2 separate regions of the Homo sapiens genome follow, and region 2 is linked to region 1. The links are contacts of gene promoters, found by promoter capture Hi-C in blood cells and fetal thymus (Javierre and others, 2016). All regions are on one chromosome and are shown on one strand. Each heading gives the region's core, a stretch centred on a gene start or on the middle of the fragment in contact. The rest is flanking DNA. Distances are from core to core; before and after follow the strand shown.

Region 1 (6,396 bases), core at 2,639-5,138:
GTAACGCAGCTGCAAACCTAACCCAGATACGTGATATTTTAGTGATACTGAGGCCAATGGTCTTCAGCGGAAAACCTCAACGGTTGACACATATTTGTCTTATACAAGTTTAATGCTGACTTTACTGGGTAAATATGGGTAATACAAGTTTGATACTAATTCTACTGGGTAAACACTGAAAATAAGGCCCACAGAGGATGGATGACTTTCTGAGAGTCACACAATTCACAAGGTATGGAAATCTTTCCATATTATCTACATAAACAATAAACAGGAACCAGGACAATTCCCACCACCCTTCTCCTATTTTAAAACTTTGAGGACTTGGACTTGGAGAAGCAGTGAAACTGTCGTAAATTAAGTGGGAAGAACTCGCTCCATCCCACCAAACCAGGGTCTTTTGGAAAAGAATATTCCAGATACATGATTGCCCTAAGGAGACGCTGAAGCAGACATACCTAGGAAACCCCAAACGTTCCTTGGATCCTGATACAGCTGGTAAGCACCCAGGCCGGCTAGACTGCCGAAGAGCAGCCCTGCAGCCAGGGACGGCACGCTGCCTAGAAGGAAGCAAACGCAGCTTGCATTGTAATGTCAGGCACTTATTTCACTAACGGAATCCACCAGACCTCCTGCCCTACAAAGGACAGCACAAAGAACTCTCAACACAGCTCACAGCCAAGGTGGACTCAAGCAGGAAGGCGTTAAGGAGAGTGTGCTATCTTCTCAGAGAAGTCAGGGTCTTCCCACCCCATTTTTCTCTCCTCTAATAGGCAGGGCACTTCCATCTAAGGAAAGGAAAGAAGGCCATCTTCCCTCCTTAGACAGAACTATGACTAGGCCTTCTTTTGTAATGCCTAACCTTGTTTTTACTAACCCTGTTTTTAGACTCTCCCTTTCCTTTAATCACCTAGCCTTGTTTCCACCTGAATTGACTCTTCCTTAGCTAAGAGAGCCAGACAGACTCCATCTTGGCTCTTTCACTGGCAGCCCCGTCCTCAAGGACTTAACTTGTGCAAGCTGACTCCCAGCACATCCAAGAATGCAATTAACTGATAAGATACTGTGGCGAGCTATATCCGCAGTTCCCAGGAATTCGTCCGATTGATAATGCCCAAAGCCCCGCGTCCATCACCTTGTAATAGTCTTAAAGCCCCTGCACCTGGAACTGTTTACTTTCCTGTAACCATTTATCCTTTTAACTTTTTTGCCTACTTTACTTCAGTAAAATTGTTTTAACTAGACCCCCCCCCCACCCCATTCTAAACCAAAGTATAAAAGAAAATCTAGCCCCTTCTTCAAGGCCGAGAGAACTTTGAGTGTTAGCCGTCTTTTAGGCCCCAGCTAAATAAACAGACTCTTAATTCGTCTCAAAGTGTGGCGTTTTCTCTAACTCGCTCAAGTACAACACTTTCTAATCAGGCCTCATCAACCATGAAGGGCTGGAATTGTGTACAGGCAGGACCTCCAGCAAATCACAAAAGCAGAAGGAAATAGGGCCAGGCAGTTAAAAAAAAAATAGAAGATCAGGAGAATAAGAAGTCTGGTGCAGGGATTGGGGTGGGAATGCAGGCAAGGACTAGGGGGCAAAAACAAGCACAGCCACTGACACACCCCTGCCTGGCCTAATGAGGAAACTTCAAAATACCAGTCTGTGTAGGCCAGAGGTTGACTCCTACTTAAGCCCAGAGATGGCACTTGGGGGTCATGGCTGATGAATGGCAGTCAATGATAATAACAAACTACAACCACCCCTGCCTACCTTTAGATAAAGAGGCAAAAATAAGTAATTCCACAAGAGGCCTGGCTCAGCTTCACCAGATAAGCAAAAGGCAAGGGCAGGAGCTGCAAGACTGACAAGGAAGCCTGCACTCCAGCTTGGGGACCTACAGCAAAGCTGAGTCAAACGAGATTGCTTCTCAGGGACACAGGCACTCACATTTCACTGGAACAACGTGAAGATGTTAAGAGGCTAAGTAACAACAAAACCCTACCTGTTTTTACATAGCCAACGATCCCACCAGAAACAACCAGTGCTGTGTAGCCAAAGCCAAACCAATGCAAAGGCACTCTGAAAACACAAGAGAAGTCAGTGAGAAGTCAGTGCTAACCTGGATTTAAAAACAAACCATATTGTCATAGGATGGGGCTAAAAGGTAATCATTCCCCACAGGTCCTATGTGCCCACAGGTACTATCACTGAAAATAAGCACCACAGAGGTTGGATGACTTTCTGAGAGTCACACAACTAAGCAAAGCTAGAGCTGGGACTCAAACCCAAGTTTCTGGCCCACAGGTCCAGTGATCCTCCCATCCCGCACGCCATCCCAGGCAGTCTACTCTTAGGGTTCTTTTCAGCTGAGGAAAGGAACTCTGGTTTCCAGAAGCTCCTGGCTACTCTCTAACCATTTACTGTCTACTCACAATGGGAAGAGGGGCTTCTCCATTCTTCTCTTCTCAGTCCAGAAAGGAGACTACCCCAGGCCTGCATCTGGGGAAAACAAGCCGGATCAGCAGTGGTTAAAAGCACAGCTCCCCAGCAGTCAGAAAGAAGTGTGTCCAACCTGCAGGCTATGCAACCTAAGTCTCAGTATCCTTCACTGTACCATGAGGATAACACTGGTACCAATTTCCTGGGGGTGTTGTGAGCATTCAATGGATGTCACATGTAAAGGTGCTTAGCACCTAGTAAACCCTGAACAGATGCCGATCATTTCACATAGGTCCACAGGAAACTCAGCAAGATCCACTGACCAGCTCTATAATCAGGGAATGTGTTAGTCATTTCATTAAGCACTCACATTATCACTAAATCGGAAAGCAAATACTCCCGTGCCCTTAATCCAACTACTTTAATGTCTCTTTTGAGGGGTGGTAGGGATGTTGCTTTTCTTCACTGATGCAACAGCCAATTTCAATACTCAATTTTTTTTTTTAGAAACTTCTGCATCCAACTCACAGTTCTCGTTAGGAGGGCAGAAGGGGAGGGTAAAATACACGGAAACTCAAGTCAGAATCACATGTGACATTGCACCCTTGGAAAAACAGCTCCTATTTTCTTACAGAAAAGTATTCTGTATGCAGTGAACCTAACAAGATGGAAAGCAATGCATACGCCGTTTATTCTGTTTAAAGAATTAGGCCAGGCAAAGTGGCTCACGCCTGTAATCCCAGTACTTTGGGAGGCCCAGGCAGGCGGATTACCTGAGGTTAGGAGTTCGAGAACAGCTTGGTCAACATGGTGAAACCCATATTCTATTAAAACACACACACACACACACAAATCGGGCATGATGGCATGCACCTGTAATCCCAGCTACTTGGGAGGCTGAGGTGGGAGGATGGCTTGAGCCCAGGAGGCAGAGGCTGCAATAAGACATATTCAGGCTACTGCACTCCAGGCTGGGCGACACAGCGAGAACCCCTCCCCACCCCCCAAAAAAAGAAAGAATTAATTTCCCATAAAACGGGGAAGGGCAGCGGGCTTGGGATCTTGCCCACAGTTCTTAACTCGAGGCGGCACTGAGTAAGGGAGGCTTTTAAAGAGCTGGAGCAACAAAACCACCAGGAAACGAGGCAACACTATGCTACAAGGGTAAGCCTTTGCCTCAGGAGCTCAGGTGCTCCGAGCATCCACAGCCTCTTTTAAGACAAGCAGAAAATACCCAAGGAGAAAAGCACCGACCACACGGCATAAAGGCCCGCTGAATCGGGGGGACGAAAAGCAGACGGCCGTGAAACTCCTAAATAATCCCTAAAAGTTAAAAGTGGCAGAAAATAAAAACAATACTCTCCAAAGACCTGCACCGACCTGCCGAAGGCCCGCGGAGTCCACTACGGAGCGCAAGCCGCGGGACACAGCAGCCAGGTCTCTCCGGAAACGCGATTGCGTGCGCGCTGCGCCCCGGGGCCGCGGCAGGGCGGGGAGAAAGGCGGGACGTCGTGGCGCGTGCGCAGTGTCCTTGGAGAGAGGTGAGCGGAGAATGGGGACAGTGGGGGCGGGGCTTGAGCCGCGGATTACCAGCACGCGCCCTGCATCCCGGGGGCGGGGAGTGAGGCGGGGCATCGCGGCTAGCGCCGTTGGCGGGGAACCGGGCGGGGAATCTCTGTGCTTCCTCAGTCCCCAGGCCCAGCACCTGCAGGGCCGACCAGCTCCAGTCCCAGGTCCAATCCTGAGTGGCCAAAAGCCGGAAACCCGGAGTTGGAATTGGATCTTGCACAAGCTGGACCACGTAAGCTGGGCCAGGCCAGAGGTGGAGGCCACCGCTGCGGGAGGAGGGCATCTGATGATTTTGAAGGACCCCATTAATAGAGGGTATAAACCAGGTGCGGGCCATCAGGGAGGATTGTCACTCTGGCCCGATCTTGTTTGTTTACACCAGGAAGGGCCTGCCTTCCACCTGCAAGAAAATATGGCAGCTGCAGAATAATGTGGCGCAATGCCAAATATCCGTTTGTTTTAGGGAGTGAGGCTACTTGAGAAGCATCTTAAATGGGGAGAGAGAGCAAGTTAAATCTGATTTCCACGCAGCTCTGTGGATTCCGAATGTCCACAGTATGATGTTATCTCCATTCCCACTTCCGAGCCGCTCCTCTTCTGTGTTTCCTGCACCACCATTCGCTCAGTTGCTCTACACTAAAATTTGCTGTCATCGTTGACTTCTCCCTCTCCTTCATCCCCTACAAGTATCAACATAGACAACTCCGATCAATATAATCATCAGTGAATAAAGCAAATTGCAGCGCATATTCTTAAAGACAAACTTTCCACTTGCAGCAGCACCTACCTTCCAGATAGCTAAATTGAAGCCCGTGTTTATCATAGCTGCTTCTAACCAGCCAGAGCTGATAATAACTAAGAACTTGCAGGAATTGCAGTATGCCAGACCTTCAATTTAATTGAAGACTTTCCTGAACAATTAATGAGACTTGTCTTAACCAGCAGGGAATGGCTTTAGGGACTCATTCTTCCCTATGCAGGTGCAAGCCTCAAACCTTAATTAGGATCATCCACCATGATCCTCGAGCCCTTCCCCACCTTATACTTGAAGAGGCTGAACCTCAGAGAATTAAATTACCTACAGTCCTGGTCACTGGTAGAGCTATTATTTAAAGTAAGGTCTAATGTCAAAGCCTGCGTCCTTAATTCTACCATATGCTGCTTCTTGCAGTGTCGTTCCTCAACCAGAACACATAGCTCTTCTGTGTAGGTAAAGTCCATCAAAACATGTCATAAAATAAATTAAAGAAATTGGTTTCTGCTCTATTTCAATTAGTACCAGAGTAAAACAATCAATGATTTGTGTTTGGGAATATTTCTAGTTGGCATTAACGTTGTTAGGAGATAGCTTAGCTCTTCACTGGGGGCCCACTGAATTATCGGAACCCTGGAACACAAATGTGTCAAAAGGGTGTAATCAAAATTATGTCAGGGAATGTTAAGTTTCTAGTCTTTGGTCACTGAGGCCTATCAGTAGGTTTGGGTGTTTTGTTTTGTTTTTCCCACAAAGAGGCTTTGAGTAAGAATTGTGTCTGGTAGACAAACACAGGTACACACACAGGTGTGTACTCACACAGCAAGAGCAGTAGAGATCATCTCCCACAACACAAGAGCTCATGAAGAAAGGGAATTGAGCTTCAATGTAAGCATTAGTTTAGCATTTTTGGAGCCTGAATGTGTTGACTTTACAAATTAAGAAGTCCCTGAACAAAAACGTCAAAAACAAATCCCAAGTTGCAGTCTGCCCAGGTAATTCATGTCTATCAAGTGTCTACAATACCAATTTCTACATCTTTGGGAGTATTTTATAGGTTTGTTTGAAGAGCAAGGTCAATAACTCTTTCCCCAAGAAATAAATGAAATCATAAAAAAAAAACCGCCTATTTTCTTAACCTAACCTATCTGCCATCTACTTCTGGATCATATTCATTGGAGCCATAAAAATATTAGCAGAAGCATATGCAGTTCTTATTATCTGCCACTGTTGGAAGCGCTTTACATATGTTAACTAACTTACACTTCATACCAACTCTGTGCAGTGACGACTATGATTATCTCCTGCTTTACACATGGAAGAAATTGAGGCACAGACTACAAGGTCACACAGCAAATGGCAGAGCTGTCCTAACTCTGCATTTGTTTCTTGCAGTGAAGAGTCTTTTTTCTGTCTCTTAGTCTGTTCTCAACACAGTGACCAGAGCACTTGGGTTAGAAGTCTGACTGTGCCATTTCTCTCCCCAAAACCCTCTGGTGGCACCCCTTTTCTCAGGCAGTGCTTTGCAAAGCCCCACACATCCTCCTCCCTGACATCAGCATCTTCTCTTTCCCCCTCACTTGTGTTTCCTTCTTGCCCTCAGCTGCTTCATCTGCCTGGAACGCCTCCCCAGACAATCTCC
Region 2 (6,396 bases), core at 2,741-5,240, 230 kb after region 1:
TTGTGTGTGTTGGGCCCAGATCTACAATTCAACTTCCTCATGAGCGCATGAGTCAGCATTTCTTCATGGCCTGTCATTCTGTACTGTTTGCAAAAGTATGAAAAATAGAGACCAGCCCATGGGAATTTTGCTGGAGAGGTAAATAAAATGCTCCATACAATTCTATACCTTTTACCAACCAAAGAATAAAATCATCAAATATCCAAGTATACATCAGTATTTTACAAACCCAGACTTTAGTGATGAAGGTAGGGAAAAAAGGATGACTGTCCTGGAGATTCAAGACGGGGTCTACTTATTGGGAAAGAGCCAGTTAAGTCAAATCATCGCAGCAACGGGTGATTTTTTCCTTGGCAAATTACCTAATTATTTCACTATTTCATTATGCCTATTCAAATGATCTCAGTCCTTGCCAGCTCCTTACAGCCTCCATTCTTTGCTGGAAATACCCTTATCCTTTCACCTCCTGGCCACCCAACCTGTTCTTCTCCATCACAAACAATAGAGCATTGAAATTCTGTGCCTGCCACCCAGAAAACTGGCAACCCACAAAGAACAAGAAAAATGGCTAACATACCTTTAAAATATATTCATCTTTAACAAATTATAAATAACAAGAGTAGCGCAGTTCTTTTTCTGTTTAATTCAAGTAATTTTTTAAAAGAAATACATTAGGCCAGGTGCGGTGGCTCACGCCTCTAATCCCAGCGCTTTGGGAGGCCGAGGCGGGCAGATCACTTGAGGCCAGGAGTTCGAGACTAGCCTGGCCAACATGGTGAAACCCCCTCTCTACTAAAAATACAAAAAAAATTAGCCCGGTGTGATGGCACATGCCTGTAGTCCCAGCTACTTGGGAGGCTGAGGCAGAAGGATCTCTTGAACCTGAGAGGCAGAGGTTGCAGTGAGCTGAGATAGCACCACTGCACTCCAGCCAGGGGGACAGAGAGACTGTCTCAAAAATAAAATAAATACATTAGAATACCACTGTTAGCAGACGTGTGATCACACACTGGTGGACTGATGGAAAATTAGAATATATTTTGGAAAGCAATTTTGCAATATGTATCAAGAATTTTAAATGTGGCTATCTTTCAATCCAGTGAATTTTAATTCCAAAGACAATAATACTAAAATGTGGCGAAGCTTATGTGAAAAGATGTTACTTACTTTTGATGTTATTCAGTATTGACTAAAATAACATTTTACACAGTAAAAAACTAGGAACGAGGCTGTAATCCCCTCACTTCAGGAGGCGGAGCCAGCCGGGCCAGCGGCTCATGCCTGTAATCCCAGCACTTTGGAAGGCTGAGGCGGGCGGATCACAAGGTCAGGAAATCGAGACCATCCTGGCTAACACAGTGAAACCCCGTCTCTACTAAAAATACAAAAAAATTAGCCAGGGGTGGTGGCGGGCGCCTGTAGTCCCAGCTACTCGGAAGGCTGAGGCAGGAGAATGGCGTGAACCCAGGAGGCGGAGCTTGCAGTGAGCAGAGATCACGTCACTGCAGTCCAGCCTGGGCGACAGAGTGAGACTCCGCCTCAGAAAAAAAAAAGGAGGCGGAGCCAGTAGGATAGTTTGAGCCCAGGAGTGTGAGACCATCCTGGGCAACATAGCGAGACCCCACTTCTACAAAACATTTAAAAATTAGGTGGGGCGCAGTGGCTCAAGCCTGTAATCCCAGCTACTCAGGAGGCTGAGGCAGGAAAATCGCTTGAACCCGGGAGGCAGAGGTTGCAGTGAGCCGAAATTGTGCCACTGCACTCCAGCCTGGGTGATAGAGCAAGAACCTGTCTCAAAAAAAAAAAAAAAAAAAAAAAAAGGAAAAAACGAACTATTGAGGAATTGGTAAGCAAACTATGGTACATCCATACTATGATAAAATACAATATGTCATATTTTTAATCACATAGGGAAACTATTATGATATAGTGTTAAATGAAAGTAGCAGGATAAAAAAATTACATCATCAGTATAACCTAACTACATGAAGCAATACACAGAGAAAGAGGTAAATAATGCTAAAATGCTAACAGAAATTACTTCTCAGTTTTGTATAATGCGTAGATTTTACTTTCTTGTTTATGCTTTTGTTTTTCCCAGAGTTTCCGCAGTAAGATTGAATTTTATAATAAGAAAAGAATGTTTTAAAATGTTCTGCCCACGGATAACTAGTAGAGGATTTTAAAATTTTATACGAAGGATGACTTCCTGAAGACTCATGAAGGCTGGCCCACAGAGGGTTTCTACCCATCAATCCAAGTGAGGCCAGCATGTGGACATGGCCCAAACACAGTTGACAGACAGTTCACCTGGAAGATGGTTCTGAATTCTTGAAAAAATTTTTTTTTTTTTTTCAGAGATGGAGTCTCGCACTCTCGCCCAGGCTGAAGTGCAGTGGCGAAATCTCGGCTCACTGCAAGCTCCGCCTCCTGGGTTCACGCCATTCTCCTGCCTCAGCCTTCCGAGTAGCTGGGACTACAGGCGCCCGCCACCAACCCCGGCTAATTTTTTTTGTATTTTTAGTAGAGACGGGATTTCACCATGTTAGCCAGGATGGTCTCGATCTCCTGACCTTGTGATCCGCCCGCCTTGGCCTCCCAGAGTGCTGGGATTACAGGCATGAGCCACCGTGCCTGGCCAAATTCTTGAAATTCTTAATGGATTTTTAAAACTTTTTTCATTTGGAGAAATTTGCATTATTTCATATTGTTCTTATAGAAATTTTATTGACATTCTCAGATCTCAAACTTTTCAAATGCGTGTAATATAGATTCACAGAAAATGAGATTATAATGAATAATCCAATCCATATTGAAGATACTGAATTTCTAGACAACATATTATCATTGCTTAAAAAAGAGTTTTGGGGGCTGGGCGCAGTGGCTTAAGCCTGTAATCCCAGCACTTTGGGAGGCTGAGGTGGGCGAATCACCTGAGGACAGGAGTTCGAGACCAGCCTGACCAACATAGAGAAACCCCGTCTCTACTACAAATACAAAATTAGCCGGGCGTGGTAGCGCATGCCTGCAATTCCAGCTACTCGGGAGGCTGAGGCAGGAGAATCGCTTGAACCCGGGAGGCGGAGGTTGTGGTGAGCCGAGATTGTGGCATTACACTCTAGCCTGGGCAACAAGAGCGAAACTCCATCTCAAAAAAAAAAAAAAAAAAAAAGTTTTGGGTGTCATATCAGAGATTCAAAGATCTCAGAAAGACAAACTTCACATATTCTCACGTTTGTGGGAGCTAAAAGTTAAAATAATTGAACTCATGGAGTTAGAGAGTAGAAGGATGATGAGCAGAGGCTGGGAAAGGGAGTAGGGGTATGGAGGGAAAGGGGGAGGGTTAATGGGTACAAAAACAGAAAGAATGAATAAGACCTAGTATTTGCTAGCATAACATAAGTCAAAAATAATTTAATCGTACATTTTAAAAGGAATAAAAGTGTAATTGGATGGTTTGTAACACAAAGGATAAATGCTTGAGGTCATGGAGACCCCGTTTACCCTGAAGTGATTATTTCACATTTCATGACTGATTCAAAACGTCTCATGTAACCCATAAATATATATACCTACTGTGTACCAACAAAAAATTTAACAAAACATAACATACAATGACAGCAGAAATTTAATAAGGATGTTCTATAAGCTAACAGTCTATTTAGTGACACATAGAAGCATAATTTATTTTATTTATTTATTCATTCATTCATTGAGATGGAGTCTTGCTGTGCCACCCAGGCTGGAGTGCAGTGCTGCAATCTTGGCTCCCTGCAGCCTCCACCTCCCAAGTTCAAGTGATTCTCCTGTCTTGGCCTCCTGAGTAGCTGGGATTACAGGCCAGTGCCACCACACCTGGCTGATTTTTGTATTTTTAGTAGAGACAGGGTTTCACCATGTTGGCCAGGCTGGTCTCAAACTCCTGACCTCAAGTGATCTGCCTACCTCGGCCTCCCAAAGTGGTGGGATTACAGGCATGAGCCACCGCACCTGGCCAGAAGTATATTTTATATTAATTTATTGAAACATATGGAAAGCAGTCAACAGGATATTCATTAAGTCTAGAAACACAGATGGGTATACATAACTTCATCAAGACCATTTTCAATGTGTAACACACACGTGTGCGTGCACTCACAGAGTTTAGACTTTATGTAGATTGGAAATCAAGTTCCACATACCTGGAATCCTACTGAGTGTCACCCAGAAATGCTCATCAGGAGAGTCAGTATCTTTTGACCACTCAAGTAAATCAATGGCCCTTAGGTTTTGAAGAACAAAATTAGCAAATTCCCTTGTAAGGGCCACATAGGCAGAGCCAAAGTAAATTGTCAGATGGTGGGGAGGAGGCATTTTTCTCATGCAAGTCCACAGCATGAAGGAAAACAAGCTATCTCTGCTCCAAGTGCATGTATTTGGTCCTTCTGATAATATGAGGAGGAGGCGGCACCCCGGGGGTGATATTTTTCCTTTTCCGTAACCTCAGATACTGAACGTATTTCCCTGTTGGTTTTCAGGGGAATTCTTGCCCACAGGTGTTGATGACGTACTTCCAGGGAACCTCAGAGGCCACAAGGTCTTTCAGGCAGTGCAGGTCAGCCTGGAGCCTGGAGATCCCTGTGTAGAACAGAGACTCCCTCTCAGAAGCCACAGAGACGTTTGTGAAGCAGCTCAGTAGCTTTCTTACAGCGTCTTTGAAAGTGACTGGGGCCTTCTGATCCACATGAACACAGTAGATGTTTTGGGGAGTGTAGATGGCCCTCAAGAGTCTTTCAAATGTATCAGTCTTTGCGGATGACCATGACATAGGCCAAAGGGAACTCGGCTTCGTCTTTGGACACAGGTTCCATTATGCAGTGATTTCGGATCAAGTATCGCTGGCAGGTTATTATTTCTCAATGGCGTCACTGGTATATTTTCATCCAAGAACATTTTCTTGCCTGTCACAATCATGCCACACACTTCTGCAAGGACTGAAGAGTTTGAGATCTTCCCCCATGGAAGATATTTTTGCGGGACCTAATAGTTACTATACAGGAATAAAAGAGTTATGGACGTGGCCATAAGCCCTAGGACCAACCCAAATGCCTCTACCTTTATTTTTCCTATGGTCTTTTCTGGATTCATCATTCACCTGATTTTATGCCATTGCTGAAGTCAGTCTGCAGGTCCCTGCCCAGACTTGAGAAATGTGCTCTAGCAACTTATTTGCAGCAAGAAGTGCAATATGACCATTTACTTAAAAGAAGGAGGATCAACCACAAGTCGGTAGCTCTTCTATTTAAAAAATCAGGTGACTCTTTGAACATGAGCCAGTGGGGCCAGCTGACCACTTCACAAAAGCCAGGCACAGTTGGGCACCTCTGTCTAGGTCAACCACAAATTAAGACCCTAGCAAATCGGCCACAGCTGCCAGCTCAGGGTGTTTTTCCCATGTGGAGTACAGGTGGAATGTGTGTTCATTTGGCACCTCTTTTTCCCATGCAGAGCCACCATCACCATCACTGATGTCACCTTTGAATGCAAGGGACACTATATTTCTTCAACTTCAGGCAATCACAGTTGTCCTGAAGTAGGTCACCATTTACGTGGACAGCACCCAGAACTCCTCGATAGTGGGGTCTCTTTACTTAAAAATAAAGATCAAGAATTTATAGTATTTCAGGATTGAAAGGAATCTTGCAGATTATTCTCACCAATTGATTCAGTTACAAATAAAGAACACTGACAATGACCCATAACGACTATTCTATCACATTTTGTCTCCATTTTCTCACTGATGGCCTGAGAGGTAAGCATTGACATTATATCCACTTTGCACATGAAGAAATTACGCCCAAAGATATGCTAGCTTGCCTGATATCCAGTAATGAGTTAATGGCAGCCTGGGGTTTTCAAACCTAACTCTTCTTCTTCTTATCTTAGAGTTGGGGTCTGGGTCTGTGCCCAGGCTGGAGTGCAATCACTGCCACATCAACTTCCTGGACTCAACCCATCCTCCTGCCTCAGTCTCCTGAGTAGCTGGGACTACAGGTGCCAGCCACATTGCTTGCCTAATTAAACATAAGATTTTGTTTCTTTTTTTTTGAGACAGAGTTTCACTCTTGTTGCTCAGGCTGAAGTGCAATGGTGCGATCTCAGCTCACTGCAACCTCTGCTTCCCAGGTTCAAGCAATTCTCCTGCCTCAGCCTCCCAAGTAGCTGGGATTACATGCACCCACCACCACGCCCAGATAATTTTTGTATTTTTAGTAGAGAAGTGGTTTCACCATGTTGGCCAGGCTGGTCTTGAACTCCTGACCTCAGGTGATCCACCCGCCTAGGCCTCCCAAAGTGCTGGGATTACAGGAGTGAGCCACCTCACCCAGCCTTAAAAAAATTTTTTTTGGGGCCGGG

The links. Contacts are between HindIII fragments. The CHiCAGO score rates a contact against its expected background, and 5 or more counts as called.
Region 2: a contact is called between a fragment that was not itself captured here and the fragment with the promoter of TMEM14B in region 1, in 3 of 17 cell types (total B cells, erythroblasts and naive B cells). The highest score is 6.4, in total B cells.

What each region holds. Positions count from the first base shown.
Region 1 is chr6:10,745,297-10,751,692 of GRCh38, reverse strand. It overlaps TMEM14B (transmembrane protein 14B), which reads right to left and starts at 3,888. Exons shown (of 6, transcript NM_030969.5): 1 at 3,812-3,888; 2 at 2,425-2,491; 3 at 1,995-2,071; 4 at 459-560. The coding sequence starts at 2,447. TMEM14B-DT (TMEM14B divergent transcript) reads left to right here and starts at 4,109. Exons shown (of 2, transcript NR_187231.1): 1 at 4,109-4,232. RefSeq lists silencers at 3,859-3,918, 3,874-4,094, 3,929-4,158 and an enhancer at 4,279-4,328. The HindIII fragment of the contact is 12,296 bases long and covers 1-6,396 here.
Region 2 is chr6:10,512,727-10,519,122 of GRCh38, reverse strand. All of the region lies in intron 1 of LOC101928146 (a long non-coding RNA gene), which reads left to right. It also overlaps the pseudogene LOC100422564. Among named protein-coding and RNA genes, the nearest start is that of GCNT2, 5.4 kb to the left of the region's middle. RefSeq lists a cis regulatory region at 48-58 and enhancers at 1-125, 141-641. The HindIII fragment of the contact is 5,689 bases long and covers 1,146-6,396 here.